Linked DNA regions of Homo sapiens: all the other regions are linked to region 5. Evidence: promoter capture Hi-C in 16 types of primary human blood cells and fetal thymus (Javierre and others, 2016). All regions are on one chromosome and are shown on one strand. The core of a region is centred on a gene start or on the middle of the fragment in contact, and the rest is flanking DNA. Distances in the headings are between cores, read along the strand shown. Region 1 holds the start of MAP4K1 (mitogen-activated protein kinase kinase kinase kinase 1). Region 2 overlaps RYR1 (ryanodine receptor 1). Region 3 overlaps RYR1 (ryanodine receptor 1). Region 4 overlaps RYR1 (ryanodine receptor 1). Region 5 holds the start of SIRT2 (sirtuin 2). Region 6 holds the start of FAM98C (family with sequence similarity 98 member C). Region 7 overlaps RYR1 (ryanodine receptor 1).

Region 1 (3,054 bases), core at 549-3,048, 280 kb before region 5:
ATAGGGAGGGGTGCTTGGGTCCCGTTGTCCTTTCTCTAACCTTGGTAGATGTCCTGGAGAGAACCAGCCCCACAGAATTCCATGCAGATCCAGAGTTTCTGCAACCTGCAGTGGTTCAAGAGTAAGAATAATAATAGCAGTAAATACATTATTATTTGCAGGAAAGCCCCTGGTTTGCTTCTGTCTTGTTCTAGTTCAATAAGAACTTTAACGTAACAGCTCTCATCACTCCACCTCTCCTTGTCTACCAGAGTGAGGTTGTTTCATTCCCATTTTACAGACAAGGAAGTTAAGGCTCAGAGAGGAAATGTGAGTTCCGGGGCAAGTCAACTCAAACCTAGGCCTTTGGGCGGGACCCCACTGCCGTCCCACGCCAACCTAGGAGGCAGGGCAGAGATCTCACGGGTTGTGGAGATTTGGAGGGGACAGAGGGGCCCAGGGCACCTGTTCTGGGGAGCAGAGGTCATTATTGGGGCATCTGGAATATTAATTTGGGGATCAGGGAATTTAGGAGTTTATATTAAAGGAGCAGAGAGTGAAACTGGGTGAGCCAAAGAGCAGAATGGTGAGAGCTTCGTTTCAAGGGAGTTGATTTCAAATTCAGTTACTATGAAGAGATCAATTTGGGGTACTCTTGGTCAGAAATGGGAATTTTAGATTGGAGATTAGATTAGAGGCTGCTCTGGTCAGAAAAGTGGGACTTAGGAGTGAGGATCATGGTAGGGTTAGCCCAGTCAAAAATGGGGGTCCAGGATGGGAGGTCGGGTTATGGTGAGAAATGGAAGTTCAAGGTTAGAACTGAGGGTGCCAAGACCAGGCGCGGTGGATCACACCTGTAATCCCAGCACTTTCGGAGGCCGAGGCGAGTGGATCACAAGGTCAGGAGTTCAAGACCAGCCTGGCCAAGATGGTGAAACCCCATCTCTACTAAAAATACAAAAATTTGCCGGGCAGGGTGGTGAGCGCCTGTAATCCCAGCTACTCGGGAGTCTGAGGCAGAGAATTGCTTGAACCCAGGAGGCAGAGGTTGCAGTGAGCTGAGATCATGCCACTGCACTCCAGCCTGGCAACAGAACAAGACTCCATCTCAAAAAAGAAAAAGAAAAGAAAAAAAAAGAACTGAGGGTACCCCCATCAAGAAATGGGGACTCCGGGTTAGGGGCTGGGCTGGGTGCCAGGGTGGGTCTGAGGTTCATCACCAGAGATAACTCCCATGGTAGGCCACGATGTTGGCGTGCCGGCAAGTTTTCAATATGAGGATTTCCTTCTGAAGGGTGGAGACATCATCATCTGTGAGGAGGGCGGGAGAGAAAAGGCAGCTCGCATGGGGAGAGAGCTACAGGGGAGGTGATCCCAGTGTCCCAGGAGGCGAAGGTGGGGATGTGGGGAAGGAGCTCCATGTTCCCTCCTCACCAGGCTCCATCTTCACCATCTTCAGTGCCACCAGGTCCCCTGACACCTTGTCTCGAGCCTTGCAAAGGGGAAGTTGGCAGTCAGGCAGGCTCCATTTGCCAGAGTCCCTCCACAGCATCCCTGAGTCAAGGTCAAGAACTGGGACCCCCTCTTGCAGCCTCCTCCCTGCCGAGGGCTTGCCTTAAAGGTCACTGGTTGTAGGGTGTTGGGGACAGAGGGGCTTCCTCACCTTAAAGACTTCCCCATACGTGCCGCCACCCAGCCGCTGTAGCAGGTCATAGTGGTCCCGGGGGTCTCTATTGAAAATGTCAGGGTCCACGACGTCCATCCCTGGGGGCCTGAGCTGGGCCTGCGCCCAGGGGCCAGCAGGGCCTCAGGGCTCAACTTCTGGCACCTCCCTCCGTCCCCAGAAGCCCTGCACCCGCCTTGCCTCCGCGGGCTGTGGCCTCCCCCCTCCTCACTCTCGCTTCCTGCCCCAGCTGCACTGCACGACTGTGCAACGGGCTCCACCCCCCCGTCCCCTGGGCTCTGAGAGCCTCTGAGGGGCAGCTTGTCTTGGGACCCAAGGGACCACCCTCAACCTCCAAGGCCCAGGGCTGGATGTAAATGTGATGCAAATGATCTTAATCGTAACTGGGTTGGAGGGGGGTGCCTTAGAACCCCCGCCCCCGTCTCCTAGGTAGTGTCTAAACCTCTGCTGGGTGCTTGAAGGTTTGGCCACAACCCGAAGGCGGCAGGTCTGCAAAGGGATGGCTATGCAGTGTACATGCCTGTTCACCTGTCACATACATGCACTTGGGTTACCTCCTCTGCACTGCGCAGGCGTGTAGACGTGCATCTGCCTGGATACCTGTGTGCACAGTACACACGTGGATGTACCCAGGACATATACCTCCACATGCATGGCACATAACTGCATTTTGTAGGCCTGCAGTGTACAAAACCTATACATAATATATAATTCATGGCAGTACAAATGGGACGCTCGCCCTCAGCTCCAAGACCGGAACCTAATGGAGACGGGGCGCGATCCGGCGAAGTCCAGGAGCCCTCACCCCAGCCCCTGCCCGGCAGAGCACAGTAGCTTTGTGGGACCCTCCTCCTGGAGCTGGGGACCAAGGGCTGAGACTTGAAACTGGAGAGCTCAGGATCCTGCACCAGGCGCCCAGGCCTGTGGCAAGAGGGACCTCAGAACACCTCCCTCGGAACTTGGCCATGGCCTAAACGTAAGGCTGCTGCGTGCATTCCCGCAGAGCTCCGTGGCCTCATGGCCGCGCGCAATACAACGCGCGCGCACGCCGCCAGAGCTCCGGGTGCTTCCCGGTGAGTTCGCGCGCGCACGCTCCCGCGCTACCGGCACTGGAACTGGGTCTGTGAGGCCCGGGAAAAGCTTAGCCCCGCCCCCTCGCCACGAGAGGCGCCTGCGCACTGGGATCCAGTAAGATTTTTCTCACGCTGTCTGTCCAGCTTGAGTGGCGCGAATGCGCACGCGCCAATTGCGCCTGCGAGGAAGAAGTCACGTGGCAGCCGGAAAGCGTGGCGGCTGCTGCTAGAGCCTTTCCCTTTACCGCACCCAAGGAGCTGGAGCGACAACAACGACGTCGTTTCCGTTTCCACCACCTCTTCCTGTTCCCGTCCTTG
Region 2 (2,717 bases), core at 211-2,710, 380 kb before region 5:
GGTTCAGGTTAGGGGCTATGGCTGGGATCAGTGTTCAGGGACTATATCCAAGGTTAGGGTCAGGCTGGGGTCAAATGGCAGCTGCTAGGTTGGAGATGCTGTTTGGGAGTCGGGCTGGGAACGGAGTTTGGGGCCTGTGTCAGAGGCCGGAGGTGGCATCAGAGCCCATCGCACCCCTGCAGTGTTCGCACAGCCCATTGTGAGCCGTGCACGGCCGGAGCTCCTGCAGTCCCACTTCATCCCAACTATCGGGCGGCTGCGCAAGAGGGCAGGGAAGGTGGTGTCCGAGGAGGAGCAGCTGCGCCTGGAGGCCAAGGCGGAGGCCCAGGAGGGCGAGCTGCTGGTGCGGGACGAGTTCTCTGTGCTCTGCCGGGACCTCTACGCCCTGTATCCGCTGCTCATCCGCTACGTGGACAACAACAGGTCAGCGGGGCCCCGCTGTCCCCATGCCCTCCGCCCCGACCTCCCACGTCCTCCAGCCCCATCTGATCTCCGCCTCCTGACTGGCTAGAAACTTCTTCCAATGCTCTGGCCCCACCAACCTTCTGACTCTTCCTCCTGGTTTCTTCTGGCTTTGAGCACATTGGTCCAACGACAGCCAGCCCACTTGTTTGTTTCTTTTTGTTTTTGGTTTTTGGGTTTTTTTTTGTTTGTTTTTGTTTTTGGAGACAGAGCCTCGCTTTATTGCCCAGGCTGGAATGCAGTGGCGCGATCTCGGCTCACTGTAACCTCCACCTCCCGGGTTCAAGTGATTCTCCTGCCTCAGCCTTCCCAGTAGCTAGGATTACAGGTGCATGCCACCACGCCCAGCTAAGTTTCGTATTTTTAGTAGAGACAGATTTTCACCATGTTGGCCAGGCTGGTCTTGAACTCTTGACCTCATGATTTGCCTGCCTCGGCCTCCCAAAGTGCTGGGATTACAGCTGTGAGCCAATGCAGCTGGCCAGTGTGATTTTTTTTAAATCATTCTCCTAATGCTGGACATTTAGATTGTGTCGATTTCTTTGTCACTATGCACAACACCGTAAGGAATAGTTTGCTTTTTTTTTTTTTTTTTTTATTGAGACAGGGTCTCTCTCTGTTGCCCAGGCTGGAGTGCTGTGGCATGATCATGGCTTGCTGCAGCCTCGGTTCCTGGGTTCAAGCGATCCTCTGCTTCTGCCCCTGAGTAGCTGGGATTATAGACTCACACCAACATGCTCGGCTAATTCTTGTATTTTTATGGGGTCTCACTATGTTGCCCAGGTTGGTCTTGAATTCCCGGGGTCAAGTGATCCTCCCACCTCAGCCTCCCAAAGTGTTGGGATTACAGAAGTGAGCCACCACACTTAGCTGCTTTTTTTTTTTTTTTAACACAACAATACACCATGAAAGACATATAGGCCGGGTGTGGTGGCTCATGCCTGTAATCCCAGCACTTTGGGAGGCCGAGGTGGGCAGATCACCTGAGGTCAGGTGTTTGAGACCAGCCTGGCCAACGTGGCGAAACCCTGTCTCTATTATGAATACAAAAATTAGCCAGGCGTAGTGACGCAGGCTTGAAATCCCAGCTACTCCAGAGGCTGAAGCAGGAGAATCGCCTGAGCCTGGGAGGCAGAGGTTGCACTGAGCTGAGATCGTGTCACTGCACTCCAGCCTAGGAACAGAGCGAGGCTCCACCTCAAAAAAAAAAAAAAAAAAAAAAAAAAGATGTATAGATTCACCTCTTTTGTCTTGGTGGTCGTGTGACATTCTCTGCTGTTGGATATAGTTCAATTTTTCAATCAGTAAATATGAACAAATTGTGGTTTATTCATACAACAGAAGACTCCACGGCAGTGGGAGTGAACAAGTTGTTTCTATGCACAATGTGATTGGCTTTCACAAATGTTAGGTGGAATGAAAGAAGCCAGAAAACCAAGAAATAAACTACATATTTTACCATCTGTTTAATGTTCACGAGCAGATAAGAATAAGTTTGGGGCCGGGTGCAGTGGCTTACAACTGTAATCCCAGCACTTTGAGAGACTGAGGCGGGAGGATCACTTGAGCTCAGGAATTTGAGACCAGCCTAGGCAACATGGCTAGACCCTGTCTCTACAAAAAAAGAAAAGAAATACAAAAATTAGTCAGGCATGGTGACACACACCTGTAGTCCTTGCCTCAGGCTGGGACTGGGAGGCTGAGGTGGGAGGATCGTTTGAGCCCAGGAGGTCAAAGCTGCAGTGAGCTATGATCACACCGCTGCACTCCAACCTGGGCAACAGAGATAGACCCTGTCTCAATAAGGTTTGTTTTTTTTTAATACAAGTAAATGAATAAAATAAAATATGTGAACCTACTTAGATTCTGACCCTGTCTCAAAAAAAAAAGAAATTTTATGCTGGGTGCAGTGGCTCGTGACTGTAATCCCAGCACTTTGGGTGGCCAAAGAGAGTGGATCACTCAAACTCAGTCTCAAACTCAGAAGTTTGAGACCAGCCTGGGCAACATGCAAAAACCCTGTCTCTACTGAAAATACAAAAATTAGCCGGGCGTGGTGGCGCATACCTGTAGTCCCAGCTAAGTACTCCTGAGTGGGAGGCTGAGGCAGGAGAATCACTTGGAACCTGGGAGGCAGAAGTTGCAGTGAGCTGAGATCACACCACTGCACTCCAGCCTGGGCGACAGAGCGAGACCCTGTCTCAAAAAAGAAAAAAAGAAAATTTTTTTTTTTTTTTTTGAGATGGAGTCTCGCC
Region 3 (2,764 bases), core at 197-2,696, 320 kb before region 5:
TGAGGCAGGAGAATGGCTTGAATCCAGGAGGTGGAGGCTGCAGTGAGCCAAGATCGCACCACTGCACTCCAGCCTGGGCGACAGAATGAGAATCCATCTCAACAACAACAACAACAAAAACACAAAAAATTAGCCAGGCAGACAGGCACAGTGGCTCAGGCCTATAATCCCAGCACTTTGGGAGGCGGAGGCAGAGGTTTGCTTGAGCTCAAACGTTTAAGACCAGCTTGGGCAACTTTTGTAGAGACGGTGAAACCCTGTCTCTACAAACAATACAAAAATTAGCCAGGCGTGGTGGTGCACACCTGTAGTCCCAGCCACTCAACAAGCTGCGGTGGGAGGATGGCTTGAGCCCAGGAGGCAGAGGTTTCAGTGAGCTGCATGTGCACCACTGCACTCCAGCGTGGATAACAGAGCGAGACCCTGTCTCTAACAAAAAACAGAGAGTGGCCAGGTGCGGTGGCTCAGGCCTGTAATCCCAGCACTTTGGGTTGGGAGGCCGAGGTGGGTGGATCACTTGAGGCCAGGAGTTAGAGACCAGCCTGGCCATCATGGTGAAACCCATCTCTACTAAAAATACAAAAATTAGCTGGGTGTGGTGACCCACGCCTGTGGTCCCAGCTACTTTGGAGGCTAAGGCAGGAGAATCGCTTGAACCCGGGAGGCGGAGGTTGCAGTGAGCTGAGATTGCAACACTGCACTCCAGCCTGGGCAACAGACTAAGACTCCATCTCAAAAAAAAAAAAAAAAAAATTAGCTGGGTGTGGTTACCCACACCTGTGGTCTCAGCTACTTGGCAGGCTTAGCCTCCTTCACTTGAACCTGAGAGGCGGAGGTTGCAGTGAGCTGAGATTGCGCCATAGCATTCCAGCCTGGGTGACAAGTGTGAAACTCCATCTCAAAAAAAAAAAAAAAAAAAGACAGAGGAAGAGATGATGGAGTCTCGCTATGTTGCCCAGACTGGTCTTCAACTCCTGACCTCAAGTGATGCTCCTGCCTCAGCCCCCCAAAGCACTGGGGATACAGGCATGAGCCACCACACCCGGCCCAGAACATCCTTTGGCTCCCTCAGTGTGCCCTTAGATTGCCAGATTATTTCCTTCTGGAGGGGGCTCTCATCTCCCCGCAGGATGCCTTCTCACCCGGAATGCCCTGATCCTCCATGTACTCCCCAAACAGAGCTGGCACCCGACCCCCAGGGCACAGCTGACTCTCGAGTGGCCCCTACCCTCCAGAGTGCTCCTCGTGTGTCCCTGCCTTCCCCCTGACCCCTGGCCCTGTGTGCCCACAGTCCTTCCTGTACCTGGGCTGGTATATGGTGATGTCCCTCTTGGGACACTACAACAACTTCTTCTTTGCTGCCCATCTCCTGGACATCGCCATGGGGGTCAAGACGCTGCGCACCATCCTGTCCTCTGTCACCCACAATGGGAAACAGGTGTGGGGAGGACCTGGCTGTGGGGCGTGGGCCAGCAGGGACCAGCGTGGCAGTGGGTGGTGAAGGGATAAGGGCCGGGCAGCTGGGCTGAGGAGGGGCAAGGCCAGGTGCGCTGAGCCGGGGGTGTGTGGGGCAGCAAGGTAGAGCCACAGGGACTGAACCGGGGCCAGGACCCAGCATGGGCAGGGTGGGGGGAGGGCAAGCCCAGGGCGGAGCTGACCTGGCCCCATCCTGCCCCCAGCTGGTGATGACCGTGGGCCTTCTGGCGGTGGTCGTCTACCTGTACACCGTGGTGGCCTTCAACTTCTTCCGCAAGTTCTACAACAAGAGCGAGGATGAGGATGAACCTGACATGAAGTGTGATGACATGATGACGGTGAGCCCCTCCCCTAGCACTCTGGGACCCTTCCTTCTCGCATCTGTTGAAGGAGTTAATAATGGTACCTCCAGGCCGGGCGTGGTGCCTCCAGCCTGCAATCCCAGTGCGTCGGGAGGCCGAGGCGGGACGATTACTTGAGTCCAGGAGTTGGAAACCAGCCTGGGCAACAAAGCAAAAATCCTGTCTCTATAAAAAAAAATTTAAACGTTAGCTGGGTGTTGTGTTGTGTGCCTGGAGGCTAAGGCAAGAGGATCACTTGGTCCCAGCAGTTTGAGGCTTTAGTGAGCTACGAATGGGCCACTACACTCCATCCTGGCAGACAGACAGAGACCCTATCTCTAAAAAATGAAAATAGTACCTACAGTTTGGCAAGCTGATGCATGCCAGGCACATTTTTTTTTTTTTTTTTTGAGATGGAGTCTCACTGTGTTGCCAGGCTAGAGTGCAGTGGCGCAATCTCAGCTCACTGCAACCTCCGCTTCCTGGGTTCAAGTGATTCTCCTGCCTCAGCCTCCCAAGTAGCTGGGACTACAGGCGCATGCCACCACACCCAGATACTTTTTGTATTCTTAATTTTCTTTCTTTCTTTTTTTTTTGAGACAGAGTCTGGCCCAGGCTGGAGTGCAGTGGCGTGATCTCAGCTCACTGCAAGCTCCGCCTCCCGGGTTCATGCCATTCTCCTGCCTCTGCCTCCCGAGTAGCTGGGACAACAGGCGCCCGCCACCACGCCTGGCAAATTTTTTGTATTTTTAGTAGAGCCGGGGTTTCACCATGTTAGCCAGGATGGTCTCGATCTCCTGACCTGGTGATCCGCCCGCCTGGGCCTCCCAAAGTGCTGGGATTACAGGCATGAGCCACTGCGCCCGGCCAATTTTTGTATTCTTAGTAGAGACGGAGTTTCACCATGTTGGCCAGGATGGTCTCCATCTCTGCCTGTGCCGTCGTGA
Region 4 (3,050 bases), core at 387-2,886, 450 kb before region 5:
AAAGATAGAGACAGAGAAACAGAGACACGGCCGGGCGTGGTGGCTCATGCCTGTAATCCTAGCACTTTGGGAGGCCCAGGCGGTTGGATCACCTGAGGTCAGGAGTTTGAGACCAGCCTGGCCAACATGGTGAAACCCTGTCTCTACTAAAAATACAAAAATTAGCCAGGCGTGGTGGCAGCTGCCTGTAATCCCAGCTACTCAGGAGGCTGAGGCAGGAGAATTGCTTGAACCTGGGAAGTGGAGGTTGGGAGTGAGCCAATATCGTGCCATTGCACTCCAGCCTGGCTGACAAGAGTGAAACTCCGTCTCAGAAAAACAAAAACAAAACAAAACAAAAACAAAAACAGAGAGAGTGAGAAAAAGATGGATAATGACCAACTGAGAATAACTTTCAACAAACAATTACTGAGTACCCGCGTTGTTCTGGTTGTGTGTGCAGAAAATAGATGAGCTGTAGCGACCTGTTCCCTGCCCTCCCAGTGCTCAGAAATTGTGAACAAACTGCCTTTAGTGAAGTACATAGTTTTACAATTAAGGAGTGGGAAAACTATTTTTGGCAGCAGGAACAGCATGTGCAAAGGTCCTGAGGTTAACATGAGCTTGGCTTGTTGCAGTAGCAGAAAGAAGCCACAGTGTGGAACAGGGTGAGCAGGCTGGAGTAGTGGTTGGTGAGGAAAGAGAGGGGATGGGAACAGCTCGTGTGAGGCCTTGTGGGCCATGGGAGAGGTCTAGTTTTGTTTGTTTGTTTGTTTTTTGTAGAGACGAGGTCTCATTATATTACACAGGCTGGTCTCAAACTCCTGGGGCTCAAGTGATCCTCCTGCCTCAGCCTCCCAAAGTGCTGAGATTAAAGTGAAGTGTGAGCCACTGCTCCTGGCCAGGTTCTAGTTTTTATCCTGAGTGAGATGGGCTCACAGGAGATTTTGAGCAGGGCAGGGAAGTGACCTGACGCAGGATCACAGAATTCTTAGGCTGTCTCTGGGAACAGACTACGGTCAGGGGACAGAGCCAGAGCAGGGAGACCAGAGAAGAGACTGCCATGATGTTACAAATGGGAGATGACAGTGGACAGGACCAGGAGGGGACTGTGGAGTTGGGAAGAGTAGTAGATTCTGGTGGGGTCCTGAGGGTAGAGCCAACAGGATTTGCTGACAGATTGGCTGTGGGGTGAGAGAAGGGGAGGGGTTGAGGATGATGCCATGATTTTTTGCCCCAAGCAACTGGAAGGATGGAAGTGCTGAAACAGCCTCATTGTCTGGAGTATCACCCAAGGTTTGTGGTCTCACAGCCACAGAGAACAAGGACGCAGACACACAAAGAGTGAGGTTAAGAGGGGACATTTAATAGGCGAAAGAAGGAGCTCTCTACTGCAGAGAAGGGTCCCAGAAAAATGGGTTGAAATGCAGGGGGTTCCATGGTGAAATGCAGGGGGCTTTACAGATGAGCTGGTGGGGAGGTGGTATCTGATTTACCTAGGGTGCAAAAGACTGGTTGGACCAGTTGTGCCATTTGCATAGGGCACAAATTTCTGGCTGCCTCCACCCTAAGCTTTTATTGTACAAGCGGGTCCTCTGCCTGAGCTGGCCATGTTGCCCATTCCTTTTCTGTACAACGTGGAAACAATAAATAAATAAATAACTAAATAAAGGGAAGATGGAGCCTCCATGTTGGACATGCGTAGCCCCAGGTATACCTTTTCTATCGGCACATTCCCCCATGCAAGCTTGTAGCTCGATTTTCCAGGCTGCTCTTTGTTAGAAAAGAAATTATTTTGGGGGCTGCTTTCCGTTAGAAAGGAAACTCTGCCGAGGACTCTGTTGCCCTTACTCTCTGCCTAAATAATTTTTTTCTACCTCTTGTATCAGTGCCATCAACCAAGTTAGGGGACAGTCAGTGTTGGCTCAGAAGGACAGGGATCTTAGGCTTTACTGCCAGTGCCTAGAACAGAGCCACTTACTACAGCCTTGCTGAATGGACAAGTAGGAATCCTTGGGGAGGCACTCGTTTGCAAAAACAGGCCTGTAGTTGAATACATGAGCCAAGGGCGTAGAGACGGGGCCTGGGCCATGTCCAAAGTGGGGACACGTGAGCATCATCAGCAGGTGGATGGTGTTTACAGCCGCAGACTGGATGAGTTCTGGGGAGGTCGGCTTGGGGTGAAGCTGGCAGCCATGATGGTCTCACCTCGTGGAAAGGTGGTCTGGCATTCTATCTGGGACAGGTTCAATTTGGGGGTTAGAGCTTTCTGGTCGGGGGGAATGTTAAGTCAGCAGTAGGTACAGGTGGAAAGGGTCTGGCCTGGAGACAGAGACAGGAAGGAGATAGGGATAGAGAGATAGAGAGGGAGAGGCAGGGACAGAGGTGAGAGAGATAGAGAGACAAAGACAGACAAAACCAAAAACAGGGACAGAGAGAGACAGAGAGGAGAGAGAGAATCAAAGACACAGAGGAGACAGATGACGGGGGACAGAAAAATGAGGAGGAATTTGCAGTGAGATTCTGCAGAGCAGGGAGGAGGGGGCAAGTGCAGAACTCAAGTCTAGACAGACGTCTTGGGGGCATGGCCCTGGGTGGCTGGGCCCACTCCAGACCTCTGTCTCCCCACTCCTAGGCCATGCTGCACCAGGAGGGCCACATGGACGACGCACTGTCGCTGACCCGCTGCCAGCAGGAGGAGTCCCAGGCCGCCCGCATGATCCACAGCACCAATGGCCTATACAACCAGTTCATCAAGTGAGCAACCTGCCCTCCCTGCTGGGGTGACTCCTGTGCTGTCCCATGCTCCGGGCATCCATACACTTGGCCTCTTTCATCTCTACCTCTGTTGCCCACACCCTTGTCTAACATATACATGGGCCAAGCGCAGTGGCTCACACCTGTAATCCCAAGACTTTGGGAGGGCAAGGCATGAGGATCGCTTGGGCCCAGGAGCTTGAGACCAGCCTGGGCAGCATAGGGAGACCCCGCCTCTACCAAAAAAAAAAAAAAAAAAAAAAAAATTAGGCTGGGCACAGTGGCTCATGCCTGTAATCCTAGCACTTTGAGAG
Region 5 (2,884 bases), core at 130-2,629:
GCTGCACTGGGTGGTGTGAGGGATTGGGGCAATGAGCCGAGGGCCCTGGGGTGACTGTTTCCCCTTTGCCACCTCCCCCCAGTGTGGGATGTGGAACAAGTCCGTCTCTCTCCTCCCCTCCACCCTTTCCCCCATCTCACCTGAGCCTCCTGCACCTTCCCTGCCTGGGTCTCCAGAGGGTGAGAGGCTGGGGGAGGGGAGCAGAGGTGGTTACAGTGGGGAGAACGATTAAGGGGGGAATAAAGGGGTTCAAATGGTCAGTGAGGGGGCAAGAACACCCACCAACCTAGTTACACTGGGATGGGATGGTGGTAAAAATGGAGCAGAGGGAGGGAGGGGACGGAGAAAAGATCTTATCTACATGCAAAGTGATGCCGGGAGAGGTGATTAGTGAGGGGCAGAGAGGCTGGAGAGGAAGATTTAGGGGGACAGGGAGAAAGTAGGGGCTTTTGCCCAGGCTGGTCTTGAACTCCTGGGCTCAAGCGATCCAACCACCTTGGCCTCCCAAAGTACTGGGATTACAAGCATGAGCCATTGTTTCTGGCCCTGACTTACTTTCTTTCTTTTTTACTTTTTAGAGAAAGGGTCTCGCTCATGTCACCCAGGTTGGAGTGCAATAGTGCGATCATAGCTCACTGCAGCCTCAAATTCCTGGGCTCAAGCGATCCTCCTCCTCCTACCTAGGGGATTCAGGGCATGAAGGAACACTCAGGAGGAGTTAGGAAGGACACGACAGTGTGTGAGTGTGTGTGCGGGGAGGGTTAGATTTACAAGGCAGAGGGAAGTTTAGAAAGGAAAAGAGAAGGGAAGAGACGCTTTGGCTGGGAGGCAGGTTTAGGAGGGAGGTGCAGTGGTGCAGTGGAGGCGGTAGGTTTAGGAGAGGCGCGGAACAAGGGGAAGCCATAGGAGGGGTCAGCAGGGGTCCCTCAGCATCCTCTGGTTGCCTCTAACAATCAGGTACCCATAGCAAGCGGGACCGGGGCAACTTATGTTCTTTGCAGCGAGGGACCTTAGCAACCAAGGTGCGAGAAACACGCGATCATTGGCAACTTGGCAAGTGGATGTGGTAAACGAACCCTGAACACACTGCGACCCAGAAACCCACCAGCCTAGCGATACAGATCGCTAAGCAACAGCCCTCAGAATCCCACTCCCCGAAGCGCTCCCTACTTCCCGCCCCACCGCGGCCACCCTTGGGCCCCGGGGCCTGCAGCATTCAGCCAGGCCCCGGCGCGGCCCGACCCTCCTACCCGGATCCCCGACTCACGGTCTGGCTCTGCCATGGGCGCGGTGCTGAAGCCCTTGAGGCTGTCACCGACCGCTCTGTCCCGTCACCAACCACTGTGTCCCGTCACCGACTGCTCTGTCCTGTCACCGACTGCTCTGTCCCGTGACGGCACCAGAAATGGGAGTGGCCGTGATAGGGCACAGAACTACAACTCTCAGCAGACATTGCGGCCGCAGACGCGCTTTCGTACAACACCCAGAGCGCCCCAGTTAGGTAAGAAAGCGCGCGAGGACCGGACTACGAGTCCCAGAAGGCGTGGCGTCAGCAGCCATGTTGGTAAAGGGCGCCCGGAAAATGTGGGAACGGCTAGAGAGTTGTAGTCCTCCCGAATACTCTGATTGGTCAGGATGCAGTACGAGGGCGGGGTGTGAGCGATTCAGCATATTATCATTGGGTGAATCAGGGGGCGTGGTGGGGAATTTCCCGCAGGGCGGAAGCTCCAGAACTCCCGGCAAAGCCCAGCTACAGGCGGGCGACTGCGGGGGGCCCCTGAGGCGGCGGGGGCCATGGCTGGGGTCGCGTGCTTGGGAAAAGCTGCCGACGCAGATGAATGGTGCGACAGCGGCCTGGGCTCCCTGGGTCCGGACGCAGCGGCCCCCGGAGGACCTGGGTTGGGCGCGGAGTTGGGCCCGGGGCTGTCGTGGGCTCCCCTCGTCTTCGGCTACGTCACTGAGGATGGGGACACGTGAGTGAACCTTAGGCTGCCAAACGGAGCCCTAGGACCCGGCGTCACATTCCTCATTAATCTCTGATCCCTGAGGCTTCCTAACCTCATACTCCTAAATCTGACTTCCGATGCTGAACTTCCTGACCTCTAACCCCCGAGTCCTAACTTTTAACAAAACCAATCTTCTATCTAGCTATGATCCTAACCCAATCATTTCTTACCTTCTTTTCTTGAACTATGATTCTCAGCTCCTGGAATCCACATTGTATCCACTGATACCCAAACCTGACTCCAGTCCTGAGACTTCTGTTAGAACTGTGGCTTCTCCTGACTTCTAACCTCCAAATATGATCTTTGATTCTTAGTTCCCGATTTGAGCCCTAGAGTTTGATTTCCGAAATTAATACTTGGTCCCTGACTCTAAGATCCTGTCTTCTGAGCAGTGTTCTTCAAATCTTAAATTCAAAGAGAGAGAATGTAAGCTCTTCTATGTTGAATTCCTAATTAAAGTAAAAAAATAGGAAAATTAAAAAAAAGAATGTTAGCTCCATGAGACCAAGGATTCATCTGTTAAACAAATATTCTTTACACATTACCACGTTCCAGGCTCCGTTTAGGTGCTAGTGATAAAGGCAGTGAAGAAAACAAACAAAAACTTAAGCCCTTGTGGAGCATACATTTTAGTGGAGCTAAATAAACAGATTGATAAGACCACAAGGAAGGAAAGAAATGGAAAGACAGGAAGAAACAAAGAAAGACACGCAGAAAGAAAGAAACATAGAAAGTAAGAAAAGGAAATAAAGTCAGAGGTAGTTAAGTACTTTGGAGAAAAATAAAGCAGGAAAATGAGGCAATAGATAAACAAGATAAGAGCATTTCAAGGAGAAGGAACTGCAGTTGCAAAGGCCCAGATGAGGGATTGTACTGGG
Region 6 (2,700 bases), core at 198-2,697, 500 kb before region 5:
CAACTCTAAGAGGTAGGTACTATTATCCCCATTATACAGATGGGAAGCAATTTGGCAGGAACATGGAGCTGGCGAGTAACAGAATCAAGCCCTAACCCTTTGCCTGATTCCTAGGGTGTAATCTCTTAACCACTATGGTGCATTGCACCTGCTCACTCCAAGGCCTAAGAGGGAGAGGAGTGAAGGCCTAACAGGCACATCGTGATCGATGAGGAGGGCCTGGTGTGTGAGGGGTGTGCTGGGATTCCTGGGTCCCTTATGTAATTCAAACCCTGAGGTGGAAAGGAGGGAGGAAGTTTTGGATTTTAGGCAGAGTTGGGTGAACACCACTCCGTCTGGGCTGCTTTAAGAGCAGAGGACAGGGCCAGGAACACTGGCTCAAGCCTGTAATCCCAAGCTTTGGAAGGCTGAGAGGGAAGGATTGCTTGAACACTGGAGTTAGAGGCAAACCTGGGCGACATAGCTAGACCCCTCTCTACAAAACTTTATTTCTTTTTTGACACGGAGTCTTGCTCTGTCCCCAGGCTGGAGTGCAGTGGCGCGATCTTGGCTCACTGCAGTCTGTGTCTCCCGGGCTCAAGCAATTCTCCTGCCTCAGCCTCCCAAATAGTGGTGACTACAGGCGTGTGCCACCACGCCCGGCTAATTTTTGTATTTTTATTAGAGATGAGGTTTCACCATGTGCCCAGGCTGGTCTCGAACTCCTGACCTCAAGTGATCCACCCACCTCAGCCTCCCAAAGTGCTGGGATTACATGCGTGAGCCACCGTGCCCGGCCTCTACAAAACTTTAAAAAAAAAAAAAAATTGGCCGGTTGCAGTGGCTCACGCCTGTAATTCCAGCACTTTGGGAGGCCGAGGCAGGCGGATCGCTTGAACCCAGCAGTTGGAAACCAGGCTGGGCAACATGAGGAAACCTTGTCTCTACAAAAAAATTAAAAACAAATCAGCCAGGCGCGGTGGTCTGCGCCTGTGGTCCCAGCTACTAGGTGTAAGCCACCAAGGCTGACTGATTTTTAAAAATTTAGCTGGGAGGCTGAGGCGGGAGGATCTCTTGAGCCCAGAAGGTCGAGACTGCAGTGAGCCGCGATGGCGCCACTGCAGTCCAGCCTGAACGATAGAGCGAAATCTGCCTCAAAAACAAACCAACAAAACACCAGCAGAAGACAACTGAGGGAGGAAAAGGAAAATGGCACCGAAGTTGTTTTTATGTCGCCGCAACAGTGACACCCGCCGCCAGCTTGTCTTGACAGCGGAGATCCCGAACGCACTGCAATTTACAGCTCCAGGGGGCGTTCCTACAACCCCGACAGGTTAGCCGAGGGGCGGGGCGGGCGGGCCCCGGGGCGGGTTCGGCGTCCTCCTGCGCCAATGGGAGCACCCAAGCCCCTGCGCGGGAAGATGCCGATTGGTCAGTGCCGCCGGACGCTGCGGGGAGCTCGTGCGCGCGGCGCTTTTGGGGCGGAGCCTGCCACCGGCCGCCAGGGGGCGCGCCGAGACCACACTTTCATGGAGGCGGTGAAGGCGGAAGCGTGGGAGGGGGCCGCGGTGGCCCAGGACCTGCTGGCTCTGGGGTAAAAGGGTGTGCGGTGAGGCTGGTGGGTGCAGGAAGGCCAGGTCTGCCCCCTGGACGCGGACGAAAAGGGATTCCCAGTGACATCCCCGCCCCCTCCCGCTGCCTCGGTCCCCACAGGTATGGAGGTGTCCCGGGGGCGGCGTCGCGGGGCGCCTCATGCCCAGACTTCAGGGGGCTGTGCGTGCGGCTGGCGGCGGAGCTGGCGACGCTGGGCGCCCTCGAGCAGCAGCGAGAGGCGGGCGCGGAGGTGCTGAGCGCCGGCGACGGTAAACACGGAGCGGGAGGGTGGCAGGGGGGCCGCCACGGGGCCACCGAGCCCTGACACCCCTGTCCTCGCAGGCCCTGGCGCGGAGGAGGACTTTCTGCGGCAGCTCGGCAGCCTGCTGCGGGAGCTGCACTGCCCGGATCGCGCGCTCTGCGGCGGGGATGGCGCGGCTGCGCTTCGGGAACCCGGTGCCGGACTGCGCCTGCTGCGTGAGTCCCGGGATGCAGAAGTGGCAAGGCCATGGCCTCCGGAGCGGCGGGCTCTGACTTTTTAGGGGAAATCGAGGTTCCCAAGGGGTGTGGTCAGAACTTTGGGGCGGCCCAGAGGGTACGAGGTGGGTGGGGTGAGCATGTTGGGGCAAGCAGAGCGCTCTAAAATGGGCGGGGGTAGAATTTCGTTTTATTTTTTATTTATTTTATTATTATTATTTTTGAGATGGAGTTTCACTCTTGTTACCCAAGCTGGAGTGCAGTGGCGTGATCTCGGCTCACTGCAACCTCCACCTCCCAGGTTCAAGTGATTCTCTTGCCTCAGCCTCCCGAGTAGCTGGGATTACAGGCGCGCGACACCACACTCGGCTATTTTTAGTAGAAACGGGGTTTCACCATGTTAGCCAGGCAGGTCTCGAACTCCTGACCCCAGGTGATCTGTCCACCTCGGCCTCCCAAAGTGTTGGGATTACAGGCGTGAGCCCACCACGCCCGGCCCGGGGTTAGAATTTTAATTGGAGGGCCTAGGAGCTCAAGTGGGTTGGATTAGGAGGAAGGCTTGAGGTTTCAAAGTGGGCAGGAGTGGAATTCGTAGGAGGGGACAGGGTCTCAAGGTGGGGCTTACTCTGGAAGGCTTTAGGTGGGGGGGAC
Region 7 (2,700 bases), core at 17-2,516, 360 kb before region 5:
CATGTCTATAACAGGTGTTGTCAGTTGCCAGAATTTTTTTTACAGGAGCTGTGTATCTTTTATTTTTGCATATAGCCCAATTTAAATTAACACAATTTAATTTAACAATTTAAATTAACACAAATAAAGGAGTTAGAAAGCAGGGTTGATGGGAAAACCTGTACCTTTGCTTATAAAATTTTGAATATTTGAGTATGCTTTGTCTATGTCATGAAACTAGGCAAAATGGGCCTTCTGTTGAGCCAACCTGATAGAGCAATTGTGAACTGACTGTAAAAAAGTTAAGGGGAAAGAAAAACGGGGGGCAAAAATACTTTCAGGGGCTGTTAAAACCTTCCTGTGCAACATGATGTTGCTATAAACATTTAAAAGGACTTGGCTGGGCACTGTGGCTCATGCCTGTAATCCCAGCACTTTAGGAGGCTGAGGCAGGAGGATCACTTGAGCCCAGCAGTTCAAGACAAGTCTGGGCAACATAAGGAGACCCTGTCTCTACCAAAAAAAAAAAAAATCATATACTACAGTATAATAAACCTCCAATCATATACTACAGTATAATAAACCTCCAATCATATACTACAGTATAATAAACCTCCAATCATATACTACAGTATAATAAACCTCCAATCATATACTACAGTATAATAAACCTCCAATCATATACTACAGTATAATAAACCTCCAATCATATACTACAGTGTAATAAACCTCCAATCATATACTACAGTGTAATAAACCTCCAATCATATACTACAGTGTAATAAATCTCCAATCATATACTACAGTGTAATAAACCTCCAATCATATACTACAGTGTAATAAACCTCCAATCATATACTACAGTGTAATAAACCTCCAATCATATACTACAGTGTAATAAACCTCCAATCATATACTACAGTGTAATAAACCTCCAATCATATACTACAGTGTAATAAACCTCCAATCATATACTACAGTGTAATAAACCTCCAATCATATACTAAAGTGTAATAAACCTCCAATCATATACTACAGTGTAATAAACCTCCAATCATATACTACAGTGTAATAAACCTCCAATCATATACTACAGTGTAATAAACCTCCAATCATATACTACAGTGTAATAAACCTCCAATCATATACTACAGTGTAATAAACCTCCAATCATATATTACAGTATAATAAACCCCCAACTACCCATCACTCAGCTTTAACAGTTTGCTTTCACAGAACAATGTTTTTTAAATAGTGGGAACCAACCCATCAGACAGACGTTCATGAATCAGTTTCACGCAGAGGTTCTCATTGTAATTGTACACTGGCATGCCTGGGGAGCTTTAAAAGAGACTTAAGCCCAGGTTTTGCCTTTACAGGTTCTAATTCAATTGATCTGGGGTTGGGCCTGAGCACTGGGGTTTTTAAAAGCCTCCTAGTTGTCCTGATGTGCAGCCAAGGTTGAGAGGATGAGAAGCACACACTTCTTCTTTTGTAGTTAACTAGAGCAGTACAGGACAGAAAAGAACAGAATGCATGGCACAGAGTAAGGCAATGTGAAACTTCTCTTTCGGGAATAGGTGAATATAATTTCAGATTGAACACATGTATCAGGTCTCAATGTAAAAAGGATTTCCTCGGCTGGGTGTGGTGGCTTACACCTGTAATCCCAGCACTTTGGGAGGCCGAGGCAGGTGGATCACAAGGTCAGGAGTTGGAGACCAGCCTGTCCAATATGGTGAAACCCTGTCTCTACTAAAAATGCAAAAAAATTAGCCGGGCGTGGTGGCGCATGCCTGTAATCCCAGCTACTCAGGAGGCTGAGGCAGGAGAATTGCTTGAACCTGGGAGGCAGAGTTTGCAGTGAACTGAGATCATGCCACTGCACTCCAGCCTGGGTGACAGAGCAAGACTGTATCTCAAAAAAAAAAGGATTTCCTACCATAGATTGCAGTCAGAAAAGATTAAAAAATTACTGCACAAGAATATAAACTTCACAAGGGCAGGGGCTGGACATACGGCTCATGTCTGTAATCCCAGCACTATGGGAGGTCAAGGTAGGAGGGTTGCTTGAGGCCAGGAGTTCGAGACCAGCCTGGGCTGGTCTCAACAAAAAAATTAAAAATTGGCCGGATGTGGTGGCTCACACCTATAGTTCCAGCTACCTGGGAGGCTGAGGTGGGAGGACCACTTGAACCCAGGAGGTCAAGGCTGCAGTGAGCTATGATCATGCCACAGTACTCCAACCTAGGCAACAGAGGGAGACCTTGTCAAAAAAAAAAAAAAATCCCCCCCAAGGCCGGGGACTGTTTTTTTTTTTTTTACTACTGTATCCCCAGAGCCTAGAATACTGCATGACACATAGTAAGAACGCAACAAATTTGTTGTAGCAAAGAGGATGTGACAATCTTAATCTCGTGAGGATGTAGTATACACTCAATAAAATATGTTGAATAAATGAACAAGTGACCAATCCATATGTTCCCTGGCCTTTAGTAGGTGCTCAATAAATATTTGTTGGATAAATGCATGAATATCCCCAGCACATAGGAGGAATTTGATAAAATTGTTTGGAAACTAACGAGGAACTGAATCTCTATTTCTCCCTGCTACATAGTTGGTGGTCAATATACAAATTTGTTGGAAAAAACTGAATGAATAAATGACGCTCCACCACATTTGACACATAGCAGGCCCTCAATAATATTTATATTTTATTTT

The links. Contacts are between HindIII fragments. The CHiCAGO score rates a contact against its expected background, and 5 or more counts as called.
Region 1: a contact is called between the fragment with the promoter of MAP4K1 here and the fragment with the promoter of SIRT2 in region 5, in 6 of 17 cell types (activated CD4 T cells, non-activated CD4 T cells, fetal thymus and 3 more). The highest score is 7.1, in activated CD4 T cells.
Region 2: a fragment that was not itself captured here is called in contact with the fragment with the promoter of SIRT2 in region 5 in 1 of 17 cell types (naive CD8 T cells); the score reaches 6.5 in naive CD8 T cells.
Region 3: a fragment that was not itself captured here is called in contact with the fragment with the promoter of SIRT2 in region 5 in 1 of 17 cell types (erythroblasts); the score reaches 5.1 in erythroblasts.
Region 4: a contact is called between a fragment that was not itself captured here and the fragment with the promoter of SIRT2 in region 5, in 4 of 17 cell types (non-activated CD4 T cells, total CD8 T cells, naive CD8 T cells and 1 more). The highest score is 7.3, in non-activated CD4 T cells.
Region 6: the fragment with the promoter of FAM98C here is called in contact with the fragment with the promoter of SIRT2 in region 5 in 12 of 17 cell types (naive CD4 T cells, activated CD4 T cells, naive CD8 T cells and 9 more); the score reaches 11.0 in naive CD4 T cells.
Region 7: a contact is called between a fragment that was not itself captured here and the fragment with the promoter of SIRT2 in region 5, in 12 of 17 cell types (total CD4 T cells, naive CD4 T cells, naive CD8 T cells and 9 more). The highest score is 9.1, in total CD4 T cells.

Annotation. Positions count from the first base shown.
Region 1 is chr19:38,616,155-38,619,208 of GRCh38, forward strand. It overlaps MAP4K1 (mitogen-activated protein kinase kinase kinase kinase 1), which reads right to left and starts at 1,799. Exons shown (of 31, transcript NM_001042600.3): 1 at 1,643-1,799; 2 at 1,414-1,471; 3 at 1,200-1,290; 4 at 41-105. The coding sequence starts at 1,741. EIF3K (eukaryotic translation initiation factor 3 subunit K) reads left to right here and starts at 3,034. Exons shown (of 8, transcript NM_013234.4): 1 at 3,034-3,054. RefSeq lists an enhancer at 2,323-2,372. The HindIII fragment of the contact is 13,708 bases long and covers 1-2,801 here.
Region 2 is chr19:38,519,032-38,521,748 of GRCh38, forward strand. It overlaps RYR1 (ryanodine receptor 1), which reads left to right. Exons shown (of 106, transcript NM_000540.3): 67 at 183-423. Among named protein-coding and RNA genes, the nearest start is that of MAP4K1-AS1, 76 kb to the right of the region's middle. The HindIII fragment of the contact is 7,673 bases long and covers 1-2,717 here.
Region 3 is chr19:38,578,691-38,581,454 of GRCh38, forward strand. RYR1 (ryanodine receptor 1) reads left to right here. Exons shown (of 106, transcript NM_000540.3): 100 at 1,292-1,438; 101 at 1,680-1,814. Among named protein-coding and RNA genes, the nearest start is that of MAP4K1-AS1, 16 kb to the right of the region's middle. RefSeq lists an enhancer at 861-1,362. The HindIII fragment of the contact is 8,029 bases long and covers 1-2,764 here.
Region 4 is chr19:38,449,150-38,452,199 of GRCh38, forward strand. It overlaps RYR1 (ryanodine receptor 1), which reads left to right. Exons shown (of 106, transcript NM_000540.3): 12 at 2,615-2,736. Among named protein-coding and RNA genes, the nearest start is that of RYR1, 17 kb to the left of the region's middle. The HindIII fragment of the contact is 175 bases long and covers 1,550-1,724 here.
Region 5 is chr19:38,898,239-38,901,122 of GRCh38, forward strand. It overlaps SIRT2 (sirtuin 2), which reads right to left and starts at 1,380. Exons shown (of 16, transcript NM_012237.4): 1 at 1,268-1,380; 2 at 141-187. The coding sequence starts at 1,283. It overlaps NFKBIB (NFKB inhibitor beta), which reads left to right and starts at 1,731. Exons shown (of 6, transcript NM_002503.5): 1 at 1,731-1,973. The coding sequence starts at 1,795. The HindIII fragment of the contact is 23,515 bases long and covers 1-2,884 here.
Region 6 is chr19:38,401,646-38,404,345 of GRCh38, forward strand. FAM98C (family with sequence similarity 98 member C) reads left to right here and starts at 1,448. Exons shown (of 8, transcript NM_174905.4): 1 at 1,448-1,573; 2 at 1,693-1,841; 3 at 1,915-2,049. The coding sequence starts at 1,509. RefSeq lists silencers at 1,235-1,564, 1,755-1,954. The HindIII fragment of the contact is 11,725 bases long and covers 396-2,700 here.
Region 7 is chr19:38,539,816-38,542,515 of GRCh38, forward strand. All of the region lies in intron 84 of RYR1 (ryanodine receptor 1), which reads left to right. Among named protein-coding and RNA genes, the nearest start is that of MAP4K1-AS1, 55 kb to the right of the region's middle. The HindIII fragment of the contact is 8,158 bases long and covers 1-2,700 here.